4 separate regions of the Homo sapiens genome follow, and all the other regions are linked to region 3. Evidence: promoter capture Hi-C in 16 types of primary human blood cells and fetal thymus (Javierre and others, 2016). All regions are on one chromosome and are shown on one strand. The core of a region is centred on a gene start or on the middle of the fragment in contact, and the rest is flanking DNA. Distances in the headings are between cores, read along the strand shown. Region 1 holds the start of MAN2A1 (mannosidase alpha class 2A member 1). Region 2 overlaps PJA2 (praja ring finger ubiquitin ligase 2). Region 3 holds the start of FEM1C (fem-1 homolog C). Region 4 overlaps CEP120 (centrosomal protein 120).

Region 1 (3,243 bases), core at 744-3,243, 5.9 Mb before region 3:
TCATACCATAACTCTGAGAGTTAAAAAACCTGTGCTTGTCATTTCTCTTTATAACCACTCAAAAGCACGCAAAAGAATCCATCCCACACCAGTCTTTCTAGTCATCTTTATAACCATAGCAGTCAAGTGTAGCAGCCACTTGGGGCCCCAAGGCACAGGCTTCAGTTGGCACTTCATCAGGATCAACCACAGGTAATTGCTTAATTGAGATGCCCAGCATGTCATGAATTACATTTCCCTTTGGCAAGGAGCTAAAGCTCAAAACCTCAATCAAACTGACCTTTAATCCCATCTTTGCAGGTCTATTTCTTGGGACTACTCCCGGGACAGGGAAGGCTTAATAAAAAGAATTGTTAACTATAATAGAGGATTAGAGTAATGAAGGATTCACTAGCAAGAAGAGAACTTTAAAGAATATAGCAACAGCAGCTATAAGGAGCTAACCTTATAACTAACTCTTGGGTTGAGAGACAGAGTGCCCAATGAAGAACCTCCCCAATTCCTCCCAGGGCTAAGATCTAGACGTTTTTGGAGAGGGCATGACCTGGCTCACTGAATGGCAGAGAAGTCACCATTGGGCTACGTCTGCAAAGCTTGTGGAAGATGTGCCCTCTGCAACTTGCTGCAAATGCCTCTAGGGTGCCAGGGAAGTTATTCATGGGGTAGTGTCTCACCTCCTCTACAAAGCTCCTAGAGTTGGGCATGTGAGAGGAAATTGCTAGTTACTGAGCACTATAGGACCTTGGCAGTGGAGAAAGCCAGGTATGCTGCAAAAGCTTATCAATACACAGAAATCAGGAAGCAAAATCCTTTTTTTCTGTAATGTCTCTTCAGCGCCCTCTGCTGATAAAGCTTCAGTCCCAGAAGGCAAACGAAAAACTGTTTAAAAGGCTCAGATCCGTTTTTACAGTGCAGTCAAAAAGGGCGAATTTGGAGCTGAGAGGCAATAAATCAATAACTGGCAGAAGCATCACTTCTCAGATTACACTCATGGATTTCGTAGTCAGATGTTTCTACATGTGCCTGGACGGCCCTTTGTCAGTCTCCTTTCCCCCAGGTTTTAACAGGCTGTCACCAAAGGAGGAAATAGTGAGCCCGAAGAGAATGTGCAAGCCCTCTTCTCTTGCATTTCCTCCAGCCCGTCACCAAGTACTCTTCCAGGCACGCCAGGCCCGAGTGTCCTAGGATAGGAAACCTGAGCAACAAAGGGAAGTGGGGTGTAAGCTCAACCCCTGTTGGACGTGGGGGTGCTGGCGCCTGAACGCCCCCGAAGGCCTCAACTCCCAGAAAGCTGCCTGCCAGGTCACAAGAGCCCTGTGAGGTCTTCCTATCGCCGGGACACTGGGAGGCAGGCGCGGGGCGGGTCCGCCGGGCGACGCGCTGTGATTGGGCGCCGTGGGGCCCGCCCCCTCATCTCGGAGCGTCGGGAGGGGGCGGGGCCAGCCGCCCGCTCGGCTCAGGCGCTGCGGGCGCCTATTGACCCAGCGGCTGCTGCGCCGCCGCTGTCTCCTCCTGCTCGTGGCGGGCGGTGCTGGAGCGCCAAGTGGCGCTGGAGAACCGGCGCTTCCTTTCGCCGCTTCCGCCGCCATCTCCGCGTTTGTGGGGCGGGAAAGAGGGAGGGGGCTAGCGGCTGCAGCTGGAGCGGGCTTCTCTCCGGGGACGGTCCTTTCCTCCCTGCTCTCCTTTTCCTTCTTTCCGCGTTGCCGCCGCCCGCCCCCTGCGCCTCCCCGCGGAGCCTGGGTCCGGGAGGGGGAAGGTAGGGGCGGCGGGGGGCGGGAGAGTCTGGCGAGCGGACGCTAGCTCTGAGGAAACTCATCAATCCGTGAGCCCCGGAGTCCGGGGTGCACATCGGCCCAGCCGCAGCGTCGGCGGCGGCGGCGGCAGCAGCACGAAGGGGCTCAGTCGGGGTAGGCGGGGGCGGTGCCGGTGCCGCGGGGGCGGGCCCGACCGTCCCGCCCAGAAGTTGTAGGGCTTGGCTCCTCGCGATCTTGTTCCTTTCCCCTCCGCTTCTCTGACCTAGCTGCGCGGCCCCGGCCCGGGAGCTGCCGAACCCGCGCCTCCCCTGGGTGAGGAGGACACGCCTGCCCTCGTCGAGAAAACTTTTCCTGCCGACTCAGTTGGGGCGGCGGTGGCAGGAAGTGCGGGCAGCGACCTCTCCTCCGCCTGCCCCGCGCGCCCTGCCGGAGGTCGGCGCTGAGCTTGCGATCAAGTTTGTGGGGGCCCCCCTTCCCAGTTGCCGGCGAGTCTCGCCTCGAGAGGGGCGCCCGACCCCGGGGAGGGCGGCAGGCCAGGGCGAAGGCCAAGGGCGTGTGGTGGCGCCGGAGACTAGGTGCGGAGCAAGGCGGGGACTCGCACCCGCATCCGAGAGCGCGGAGGTCGCGCAGCCCGGGAGAAGGGAGCCTCCGGCGGCTGCTTCCTAGAGTCCACAGTGCGCTGTCTCCTTTGGCTGAGGAGAGTGTCCTGGCCCCGAGTCTATCGAGGAAAATGAAGTTAAGCCGCCAGTTCACCGTGTTCGGCAGTGCGATCTTCTGTGTGGTGATTTTCTCGCTCTACCTGATGCTGGACCGGGGTCACTTAGACTACCCCAGGAACCCGCGCCGCGAGGGCTCCTTCCCTCAGGTAAGCACCTGGGAAGGGGGCGCGGGGCTCCGAGGGGCCAGGCGTGCGGGCCCCTGGTTAGCGGCTGCTACCCAACCTCTTCCTCCCGCCGCGGCCCCACACCCGTGCTGGGCGAGGCCAGGGGCTCTGTAGCTCTCGGACGGCAATGATCACCTCCTGGGAGCCACCTCGCCCGGGCGCGCCAAGTTAACAAAGTGCTGGGCGGCGTGCGGCGGCGGCGGCGGCATCATCCCGCTCAGGAAAGTGGCCATGTTCCGGCATTCGCACCCGGCCTGTTGGGGTGGCTTCGGGCACCTGCTGGCGGGGGAACGGGCGCGGCGTGAGGCACCCCCCGCCAGCCCGGGGCCCGCGTATCCCGGTGGGGTCGTTCTCGGCTCTCACAGGGTTAAGCCGCCCGCACCAGCCCAGAGCCCCTGAGCGCACGGAGTCGCGGAAATGGATCAAACCGAACCCACCTAGGCTTTTTTTTCTTTTTCTTCCCCGCTGCCTCTGAAGAGAGAGAAGTTTATTTCGTGTTGCGGCCCTTTTAGATGTGAATCTCTAGGTTGATTTTAGTGTCGTCATTCTTCAGCTATTACATCTGGTTTGTTTGTGGCAGACAGGGGGAACCGAGTGGGGAAGCGC
Region 2 (3,035 bases), core at 1-2,500, 6.1 Mb before region 3:
CCCATTTCTACAAAAATACAAAAAAGTTAGCCAGGCTTGGTGGCGTGTACCTGTAATCCCAGCTACTCAGGGGGCTGAGGCAGAAGAATCACTTGAACCCAGGAGGCGGAGGCTGTAGTGAGCTGAGATGGTGCCACTGCCCTCCAGCCTGGGCAACAGAGCAAGACTCCATCTCAAAAACAACAACAACAACAACAACAACAACAAAAACCTCTCAGCAATCCAAGAATAGAATGGGAACATCCTCAATATGATAAAAGGCCACTTGTCTTAGTCCATTAGGACTCCTATAACAAGCTCCCATAGACTGAAGTGGCTTATAAACAACAGAAATTTATTTCTCGGCTGGGCGCGGTGGCTCACACCTGTAATTCCAGCACTTTGGGAGGCCAAGGCAGGTGGATTACCTGAGGTAAGGAGTTTGAGACCAGCCTGGCCAACATGGTAAAACCCCGTCTCTACTAAAAATACAAAAATTAGCCAGGCATGGTGACATACGCCTGTAATCCCAGCTACTCGGGAGGCTGAGGCAGAATTGCTTGAGCCTGGGAGACCGAGGTTGCAGCGAGCTGAGACTGCCACTGCACTCCAGCCTAGCCGACAGAGCAAGACTCTGTCAAAAAAAAATAGAAATAAAAATAAAAGAAATTTATTTTTCACAGTTCTGGAGGCTGGGAAGTCCAAAATCAAGGTGCTGGTAGATTCAGCGTTTGGTGAGAGCCACTTCCTGGTTCACAGACTGCAGTTTTTTCACTGTGTTCTCATACGGCATAAGGGGATAGGAGCTCTCTGGGACCTCTTTTATAAGCACACGAATCCATTAATGAAGGCAGAAGCTTCATGACCTAATCACCTCCTTGAGATCCCCCTCACAATGGGGATTATGTTTCAATGCTATGAATTTTGGAAGGGACATAAGCATTCAAGCTATAGCACCACTCTATCACACTCAATAATGAAAGATTCAAAGCTTTCTTCTTAAGATCAGGAACAGAGAAGGATATCTGCTTTCACCACTGCTATTCAACATCATAATGGAGGTCTTAGCCAGTCTAAGAAGAAGAAAAGGTGGAAGGAGTTACATATAAATTCAAAAATAATAAAACTGATCTATATTTGCAAATAACATGATTGTCTACATAGGACAATTCCAGAGAATCTACAAAAAATTTACTCAAATGAATGAATTTAGCAAGGTTGCAAGCATCAAGGTCCATATGCAAAAACCAACTGTATTTTTACATATAGCAGTGAATAACTGGAAACTAAAATTTAAGAAAATTATCACTTATAATGGTATCAATTATTAAATACTTAGATATAAATCCAACAAAATGAGCAACATCTTCATGCTGCAACTACAAAATGCTGACAAAGGAAATGAAAGAAGACCTACATAAATGGAGACAACCTGTATTCATGAATTGGAAGACTCAAGATGTCGATTCTTCCTAAATTGATCTATGCATTCGACACAAACCAAATTAAAATCCCTTCAGGTCTTTTTGTAGAAACCAACACGCAGCCTCTAAAAGCTTTACGGTAAAGTTAGAATAGCCAAGGCAATTTTGAAAAAGAATAAAGTTCAAGGATTCATATTACCTAATTTCAATACTTATAAGTAAAAATAACCATGATAACTCAGTACTGGCAAAATTATAGGCATAAAGATCAAGAGAAAAGTACAGGAACAGATTTACATATATGATCAACTGACTTTTGACAAAGTTAATTCAATGGGGAAAGGAAAGTAGTCCCAACAAATGGTGCTAGAACTACATATACATTTGAAAAGAAAATGAGCCTTGACCCTTACTACACACCATATACAAAAACTAACCCAAAATGGATAATGTGCCTTGACATGAAAGCCAAAACTAGAAAACTTATAGAAAAATCCTAAGAGTAAATCTGCACAACTTTGCATTAAGCAAAGAGTTCTTAGAACACAGAAGCACAAATCATAAGAAAAAGTTGGTAAGATGAATTTATCAAAATTAAAAGCTCTTCTTTTAAAGTTAGGAAAATAAAAAAAAAACAAGCTTCAGATTGCAGTGTGTGTGTGTGTTTATGTATCTCTGTGTGTCAAATGAGTTGTATAAAGAATGTATTAAAAAATGCTTACAACTCAATAAGACAAACCCATTTTTTTTTTTTTTTTTTTTTGAGACGGAGTCTCGCTCTGTCGCCCAGGCTGGAGTGCAGTGGCACGATCTTGGCTCACTGCGAGCTCCACCTCCCGGGTTCACGCCATTATCCTAACTCAGCCGGAGTAGCTGGCACTACAGGTATCCGCCACCACGCCCGGCTAATTTTTTGTATTTTTAGTAGAGATGGGGCTTCACCGTGTTAGCCAGGATGGTCTGGATCTCCTGACCTCGTGATCCGCCTGCCTCGGACTCCCAAAGTGCTGGGATTACAGGCGTGAGCCACCGCGCCAGGCCCACCCATTGTTGTTTGTTTGTTTTTTAATGAGCAAAAAATGTCAACAGATACTTCACAAAGGAAGACATACACTAGAGCAAATTCTCAGCACCATTAGTCATCTGGTAAATGCAAATCAAAATCCCAGTATGATACTACTATATACCCACTAAAAGGGCTAAAATTTAAAAGACTGAAATAACCAAGTGCTGAGGATGATGTGGAGCAATTGGAACTGTCATACACTGCTGATGGATATGTAAAATGTGACAACCACTCTGGAAAACAGTTTGGCAGTTTCTTATAAACATCCATGTATCATACAACCCAACAAGTTCCATGTCTAGGTATTTACCAAGAAAAAAAAGATGTTCACAAAAATTCAAAATAAATGAATGTTCATTGAATAAAGGAATGTTCAACAAATGAAGGCTATTTATTAATAACAGCCCCAAACTGGAAACAATCCAAGTATCTGTAAATAGGTGGAATGGTCAACAAACTAGTAAATCAATACCAAGGACTTCTATTCAGCAATAAAATGAGAACCCGTTAAATACAGAAAAACATGGATAATCCTGAAAAACATGCCAAGAGAAAAAGCCAGATAC
Region 3 (3,154 bases), core at 638-3,137:
ATGTATCAAACTTCCTGAAAATAAGTGGTAGACATTTAGAAAAACAAAGAAGCTGAACTCACCTTTGACACTTTTTCTATTAACATCTGCCCCCTTTTCAAGTAAATACTGAGCAATCTCTTTATGTCCTTTGTAACATGAAATCATCAAGCACGTATGCCCATGTCGGTTTGACACTTCCAAATCAGCTTTGTGTTCTACAAGGTACTTCACTATTTCCAAATGGCCATCGAAACACGCAGCTCGAAGAGGAGTTGAATTGGTTAAAGTCGTGTTGTTGACAGATGCTCCATGATTTAACAAGGACTGGACCACCTTCAGATGTCCTGCTGCAGAAGCGGCCCATAAAGGGGGAGCCCCCTCAATGGTTTCGCCATCAAAATTGACGGAGCCCCCAACTTCTATGGAGGCACTGCATTGCTCTAGGAGGAATTCCACCATGTCAAGGTGCCCATACCTGGCGGCCATCAAGAGTGGCGTGGCCCCATTTGTTTTTTCAGAGATCAAGGAGGAAACCTCCTCTTTGGATTTGCTTGCCAACAATTTGGTGAGAAGCCGGAGTTTGCCATCCCGAGCTGCGTTAAATACTGCTGTCTTTAGATCCATTTATGTCCAGTTGAGAGGCTGTGCTTTATTTATCTTTCAAAGCAGAGCTCCAGTTTAACTCTATCGACACAGGCAAGAGTCACAGGAACCAAAGTCCAATGTTAATTGCTGCACCCCAGAACGGATACACAACCACGAAGAGTATGTTCCGTCCTACTGCTTTCCAACATCTGACAACCAGGGCACCAAACTAGAGAAAGAAAAAAAAAGTAGCAGCATTTAATTTTCTATAGAAGAAGGCAAAACACTTCTTAATTTCCACTTCTGTGGGAAGAAAGGAATAAAAGCTATACTTCAGGCACTACTCCATCCCACACACCCCCCCCACCCCCAAAGAAAAGGTGGTAAAGAAAAATACAGAAGGATACACAGAGACCCAAATGTTCTGGTCGCAGGCAGTCTCCTCCATGTGCGGAAAATTTAAACACTACAGGCAGCCCGTTTTCTCGCCTCCAGCTCTAACCAGCCAAGCTTTGTTCTAGTTTTGCTTTGCACACGCCCAGGGAGAGTACAACCGAAAGAGGCAGGAGACTCGGGTTCAGAAATGTTTCTCTTTCTTGCAACTGCAGGAGAGCTGGCCAAGGGCGCCAGGCTGGAAGGCCTGAGGCCGGGTTTCGAGAAAGAACAAAAAGGTCGGACACACCAAACCCCGGCTAAGGCCAAAACTGTGCCCCGAAAGATTCTCTTTCCTTTAAAACTACTCACGGCTCTCAGGAAATCCGCCTGCCTTTTAGTCATTAACTTCGCCCGCCCCATTTCGATCACCCCCCACCCCCCGCCAAGGGATGATCCGCAGGTTCCTCAAACCACAGTCGCCCCAACACAACCTTCCCCTCTCCCTGTTCCAGACAACGGCAGCCCCCTCCCAATCTCCTCCATCGACCACAACCCCCTCCCGATGGGCCAAGCTGTGGCCTCCAGCCCGCTGCCCGCCTTCGGCTCCCCCGGCGCCCTCCTTCCCGCCCAGGCCTTCCGCGGGCACCTCAGGCCCCGGCCCGAGCCCTGGCAGGCCGCTGCCGCCGCCACTACCTGCCCGGGGACTAGTCCTCCCCGCCGCCGCTGGTCACTCGGGCTTTGTCCGTCCCCTTCAAAGGGAAACCGTTGTCCCCACCGCCGCCCGGGCCGCCCTGCTCCGCCTGCGGCCGCACAGCTCCTCCATGCTCCGCGCCCCAAAGGAATGAATCCGGCCGCGCTGTTCGCCACGCCCCGCCACCCGAGCTGCCTCCCGCCCTTAGTCGGCTCGGACTGCAGCGGCTGCAGCGACTGCTGCGACGGATGGTGTAATGGGCTGCGAGCCGGGGGCCGGACAAGCCTGAGCGTCACATCACTGACTGTGCCGCCACGCCATTGGGCCGGGGGAGGGCGGCGGCCGCGGCCAGCAACAGCCTAGGCGCGGGGCGGGGCGTCGCGGCCGGGGTGGGGCGACGGGGAGGGGGCGGGGCCTGAACTACTGGGAGGACGTGCCTGCGTGCAACGCGCTGGGGGGCGGGGCGCTGCGAGGGGGCGGATCTGTGCCCATCGAAGCGGCCCGAGGCAGCTCGAGTTCTGAGATCTCGCTGGCTCTTCTCCTCTCGGATTTTCGGGGTGCTCCCTTAGGGAATCTTTCGGTCCCATCTCAGAGACCCCAGAAGGGAAGTGTATTAGTGCGTTTTCACGCTGCTGATAAAGACATACCCGAGATTGGGTAATTTATAAAGATAAAAAGATTTAATGCACTCAGAGTTCCACGTGGCTGGGGAGGCCTCACAATCAAGCCAGAAGGGGAAAGGCACGTCTTACATGGCAGCAGGCAAGAGAGGAAAATCAGAGCCAAGGAAAAAGGGAAACCCCATATAAAACAATCAGCTCTCCTGAGACGTACTCACTACCACCAGAGCAGCATGGGGGAAACAGCCTTCTTGATTCAATTATCTCCCACTAGGTCCCTCCCACAATATGTGGGAATCATGGGAGCTAAAATTCAAATTTGGGTGCGGACCAGTATTACCCTCACACACGTGAAGTCTCTCGGACTAGTCTTCCGTCCTTACTTTGGTGGGCCCTGGAAATTACCAAGCTCGTAATTACACCTCAGAACACACACGGAGGAAACTGAAATTTCAGAAAATGTGATTAGTTTTGGAGGCTGTCAAACTGACTCTCTTTCTAAAGTAGCCTCTAAAAAGCATAAAGGCTACGAGGAATGGTAAACCCTAAGAGCAATGTAAAGTCAATGAGGTCAGGTTCTTGAGCTCTGAGTAATAAATCGGGAACTAAAGCTTAAAAGGTTATATATATGAATGAAAAGAATTACTTCTTCATATAGTAGTTGATAAACCTCTGGAATTTGATGCTAAAACCTACGTTGCATTAAACTAGGATGAAAAAGTTTAAATGTGTTTGGGAAATAACGCCCATAATGAATCCTGATGAGAAAACAGAATTTTTGAAAATGGACCTTCAATCACTTTGTTTGAGGGAACTTAAGCTCACATAATTCCTTAGTACCACTAGGAGAAATAGAATATTACAGTAGGCAGTCTGACCCTCAGCATATGTAATCCATAAC
Region 4 (3,205 bases), core at 653-3,152, 7.9 Mb after region 3:
CAACAATCAGAGTGGTACTAACCTGGCACTAACAAAATGGAAGCCCTAACAGCTCATAGCAGGACTCCATTATAGACACCACTGAAAGGAAATCCAACATTGATATTCTCTAAGAATGCAATACTTCTTCAAATAAATCCATGGACTACTCTAGCAACAGAGGTAAATAGAGTTTTCCTTGCTTTCCTTTTTTTTAACTTTCCATTTTGATTTAATTTAGTACTGAGAACAAGCAAGTATTAAAGTGATAACATGTTTTCCAGAAGAAAATATATTTTTAATCCTTAAATAAATAAGAGTATTGCTTTTATTGTTGTTGCCTGCTTCTAGTCAGAGTTCACAAAAAATATATACTATAACTTTAAGTCTATTTTATATACTAATAAAGTGGTTTTGTTTAAAATTAAATATAAATTAATTAGAAAGAAACCTTGATAGAATTACTTTCATAACTTTTCACTGGATACCCCTCTATATATCCTTGGCAAGCCAGGTAAATATACAATAAATAAATTAACAGAAATTACAAGGAATTCCAACCATATTTAATAATGAGTAGGTATCATCAAGGTATTTCTAGAATATCTACTGTCTCACACATTAGGAAAAAAAAAAAACCCAAACAGCTCAGTGTAAGTGTAGTGTAAAAGCTTAGGCTCTGAAGCTGGATTGCCTGGGCTCTACCACTACTAAGCTAACAGACTTAAAACAAGTTACTAATACTTAACATCTCAGGCCTCGGTTTCCTCATCTATAATATGGGCGAAATAAAAATAACAACTTCATAGTGTTGTTCTGATGTTTAACTGTTATTGTTGCAAAGTACTTTAAAAATTTCCTGTCACATTTAAAAAAACACTCAATAACTATAATTATTAAACGTAATGACAGATACAAAATTTATAGGTTGAACATTCCTAATTTGAAATGCTCCAAATTCTAAAACTTTGAGTGCTGACATAATGCCACAAACGGAAAATTCCACACACAAGCATTTAACATACTTCATTTTATGAAAATTTATTTAAAATATTATATAAAACTACCTTTGACTATGCGTATAATGTAAAACAAATAAATTTCATGTTTAGACTTGGGTCCCATCCCCAAGGTATCTTTGATTATGCAGATATTCCAAAAATCCGAAAATACTTCTGGTCCCAAGTATTAAATACTCAAACTGTATTTATTTATAACAGCCTGAAAAATAAGAAACCAATAAAGAAGCTAAAATGAAAATGATAATCACCTGTGCTGATGAAGCGCTTTCCTGTCAATTTCCCAAGCTAACTCAGTAGCAAATTCTGGCTGGTCAGTGTGGTCCACAGGATCAGTAGCCAACTGTTCTCCATCAAACTTTGCTTCCACTACAAGCATATGCTTTGGACGTTTGGGGAAATGCCGACCTGGAGAAACAGAATATATAGATTAATCAAAAGTGTACAAAAATCAAACAGGATCATTTACCATGTGTTTTTTTGTTTGGCTGGTTTTTTTTTTTTTTTGAGATGGAGTCTTACTCTGTTGCTTAGGCTGGAGTTCAGTAGCGCAATCTCAGCTCACTGCAACCTCCGCCTCCCAGGTTCACGCGATTCTCCTACCTGAGCCTCCCAAGTAGCTGGGATTACAGGTGCACACCACCAAACCCAGCTAATTTTTGTATTTTTAGTAGAGACAGGGTTTTGCCATGTTGGAACTCCTGACTTCAGGTGATCTACCTGCCTCGGCCTCCCAAAGTGCTGGGATTACAGGCATGAGCCACCATGCCCAGCCTAGCATGTGTTTTTTTAAAACTAATGATCTGTTAAGTGTGGTTGACATGCATTCCATAAGCTACCTCACTAATGCAGGCTCACATATACACTCACTTCCATAATTCATAAGAAACATGAATCAAATGGAAAGCTATAATTTATAAATGTGTGCTTCTCAAACATTAGTGTGCACATGAATCACCTAGGGACCCTGTTAAAATGTAGATTTTGACTCAGTAGATTTAGGGTGGGCCTAAGATTCCGCATTTCTAACAAGATCCAAGGTGATGTGAATGCTGCTGTCCTTGGTCCACACTTTGAGTAGGAATGATCTCAACAACATCTGGAATTAAACACTTAATGTGATTACACGAATTTTAGGTACTACTATTGCACTACTTAATAGAGAACAGTCATCTGAAGAGCTGGGAAATAAATTAGTAAAAACAAATTTGCCTGCAGCTTAATTTTTCTGTTAACTCAGTTAAGAATACTTTCCTGGTGAAACCCCGTCTCTACTAAAAATGCAAAAAATTAGCCGGGTGTGGTGGCATGCGCCTGTAGTCCCAGCTACTCGGGAGGCTGAGGCAGAACAGCTTGAACCCGGGAGGCAGAGGTGGCAGTGAGCACTGCACTCCAGCCTGGGCAACAGAGCAAGACTCCATCTCAAAAAAAAACAAAAACAAAAACAAAAAAAAAAAAACAGAATACTTTCCAAATTAGCTAAAGAAAAATAGCCACATGGATTCCTTCATTCTATTCTCAAGGACAACACTGTACACTATCAGGAAATATTCAAATATTCTATCTACACATCACTTTTCATTTGTACTGCCAAACCCCATTTCATCAATGTTTACTGAAGACATATTCAGAGTCAGGTATTTTATCAGATGGTGGGGTACAAAATGAGTAAAACAGAGTACTTGCTCTAAAAAAACTGAGGATCTAGTTAAGAGAAACAAACCAAAAAAAACTGAAAATAGGAAGCTAAAGAACATCAACGAAGAAGCACTAAGAATCTTGCACTGAGTCAACTAGTTCTCTTGTTTATAAATCTGTTAAGGTGGATCTTATTGAGGGGAATTTTATCCATTGATTAATGAAGAAATCCCTGCTGCTACTCACCCTGGTACAAGCTACTTGTGGGGGAAGTGTAGGAATTAAGCTGTTAAAAAGACCTTGACTGCTAACCTTGTGAGTTAAAGCCTGAGGCTCTCATTGAAACTCTGTATTAGGAGTATTAACACACATCGCACAGCTCTCCCAATTAGCATTAACAGAGGCCCATCTCAGGACCTCATTTTCTGCTGCTCCAAAAGATACCTAGCTTCCCCAAATGAATGTCATATATGTCAAAGAACCTATATTTTCCATATTATTATAACTAGCAGCTTCCAACAAGCTTGAGAACAGAGGATGTGAAGGGAACAAACAGATGCCTGCCTTGC

What was found. The method cuts DNA at HindIII sites, captures the fragments that hold promoters and counts their contacts. A CHiCAGO score of 5 or more calls a contact.
Region 1: the fragment with the promoter of MAN2A1 here is called in contact with the fragment with the promoter of FEM1C in region 3 in 1 of 17 cell types (total B cells); the score reaches 5.8 in total B cells.
Region 2: a contact is called between a fragment that was not itself captured here and the fragment with the promoter of FEM1C in region 3, in 1 of 17 cell types (non-activated CD4 T cells). The highest score is 6.6, in non-activated CD4 T cells.
Region 4: a contact is called between a fragment that was not itself captured here and the fragment with the promoter of FEM1C in region 3, in 1 of 17 cell types (total CD8 T cells). The highest score is 5.1, in total CD8 T cells.

Annotation. Positions count from the first base shown.
Region 1 is chr5:109,687,934-109,691,176 of GRCh38, forward strand. MAN2A1 (mannosidase alpha class 2A member 1) reads left to right here and starts at 1,994. Exons shown (of 22, transcript NM_002372.4): 1 at 1,994-2,619. The coding sequence starts at 2,485. MAN2A1-DT (MAN2A1 divergent transcript) reads right to left here and starts at 3,166. Exons shown (of 1, transcript NR_186543.1): 1 at 1-3,166. RefSeq lists enhancers at 650-1,318, 1,078-1,177 and silencers at 1,288-1,577, 1,588-2,107, 2,138-2,347, 2,758-2,857. The HindIII fragment of the contact is 3,132 bases long and covers 851-3,243 here.
Region 2 is chr5:109,403,896-109,406,930 of GRCh38, forward strand. All of the region lies in intron 1 of PJA2 (praja ring finger ubiquitin ligase 2), which reads right to left. Among named protein-coding and RNA genes, the nearest start is that of PJA2, 4.6 kb to the right of the region's middle. The HindIII fragment of the contact is 565 bases long and covers 969-1,533 here.
Region 3 is chr5:115,542,888-115,546,041 of GRCh38, forward strand. It overlaps FEM1C (fem-1 homolog C), which reads right to left and starts at 1,888. Exons shown (of 3, transcript NM_020177.3): 1 at 1,636-1,888; 2 at 63-796. The coding sequence starts at 606. RefSeq lists enhancers at 1,437-2,203, 1,745-2,039 and silencers at 1,469-1,638, 1,689-1,738, 1,839-2,178. The HindIII fragment of the contact is 1,787 bases long and covers 1,076-2,862 here.
Region 4 is chr5:123,417,110-123,420,314 of GRCh38, forward strand. CEP120 (centrosomal protein 120) reads right to left here. Exons shown (of 20, transcript NM_001375405.1): 2 at 1,250-1,406. Among named protein-coding and RNA genes, the nearest start is that of CEP120, 4.7 kb to the right of the region's middle. The HindIII fragment of the contact is 2,509 bases long and covers 649-3,157 here.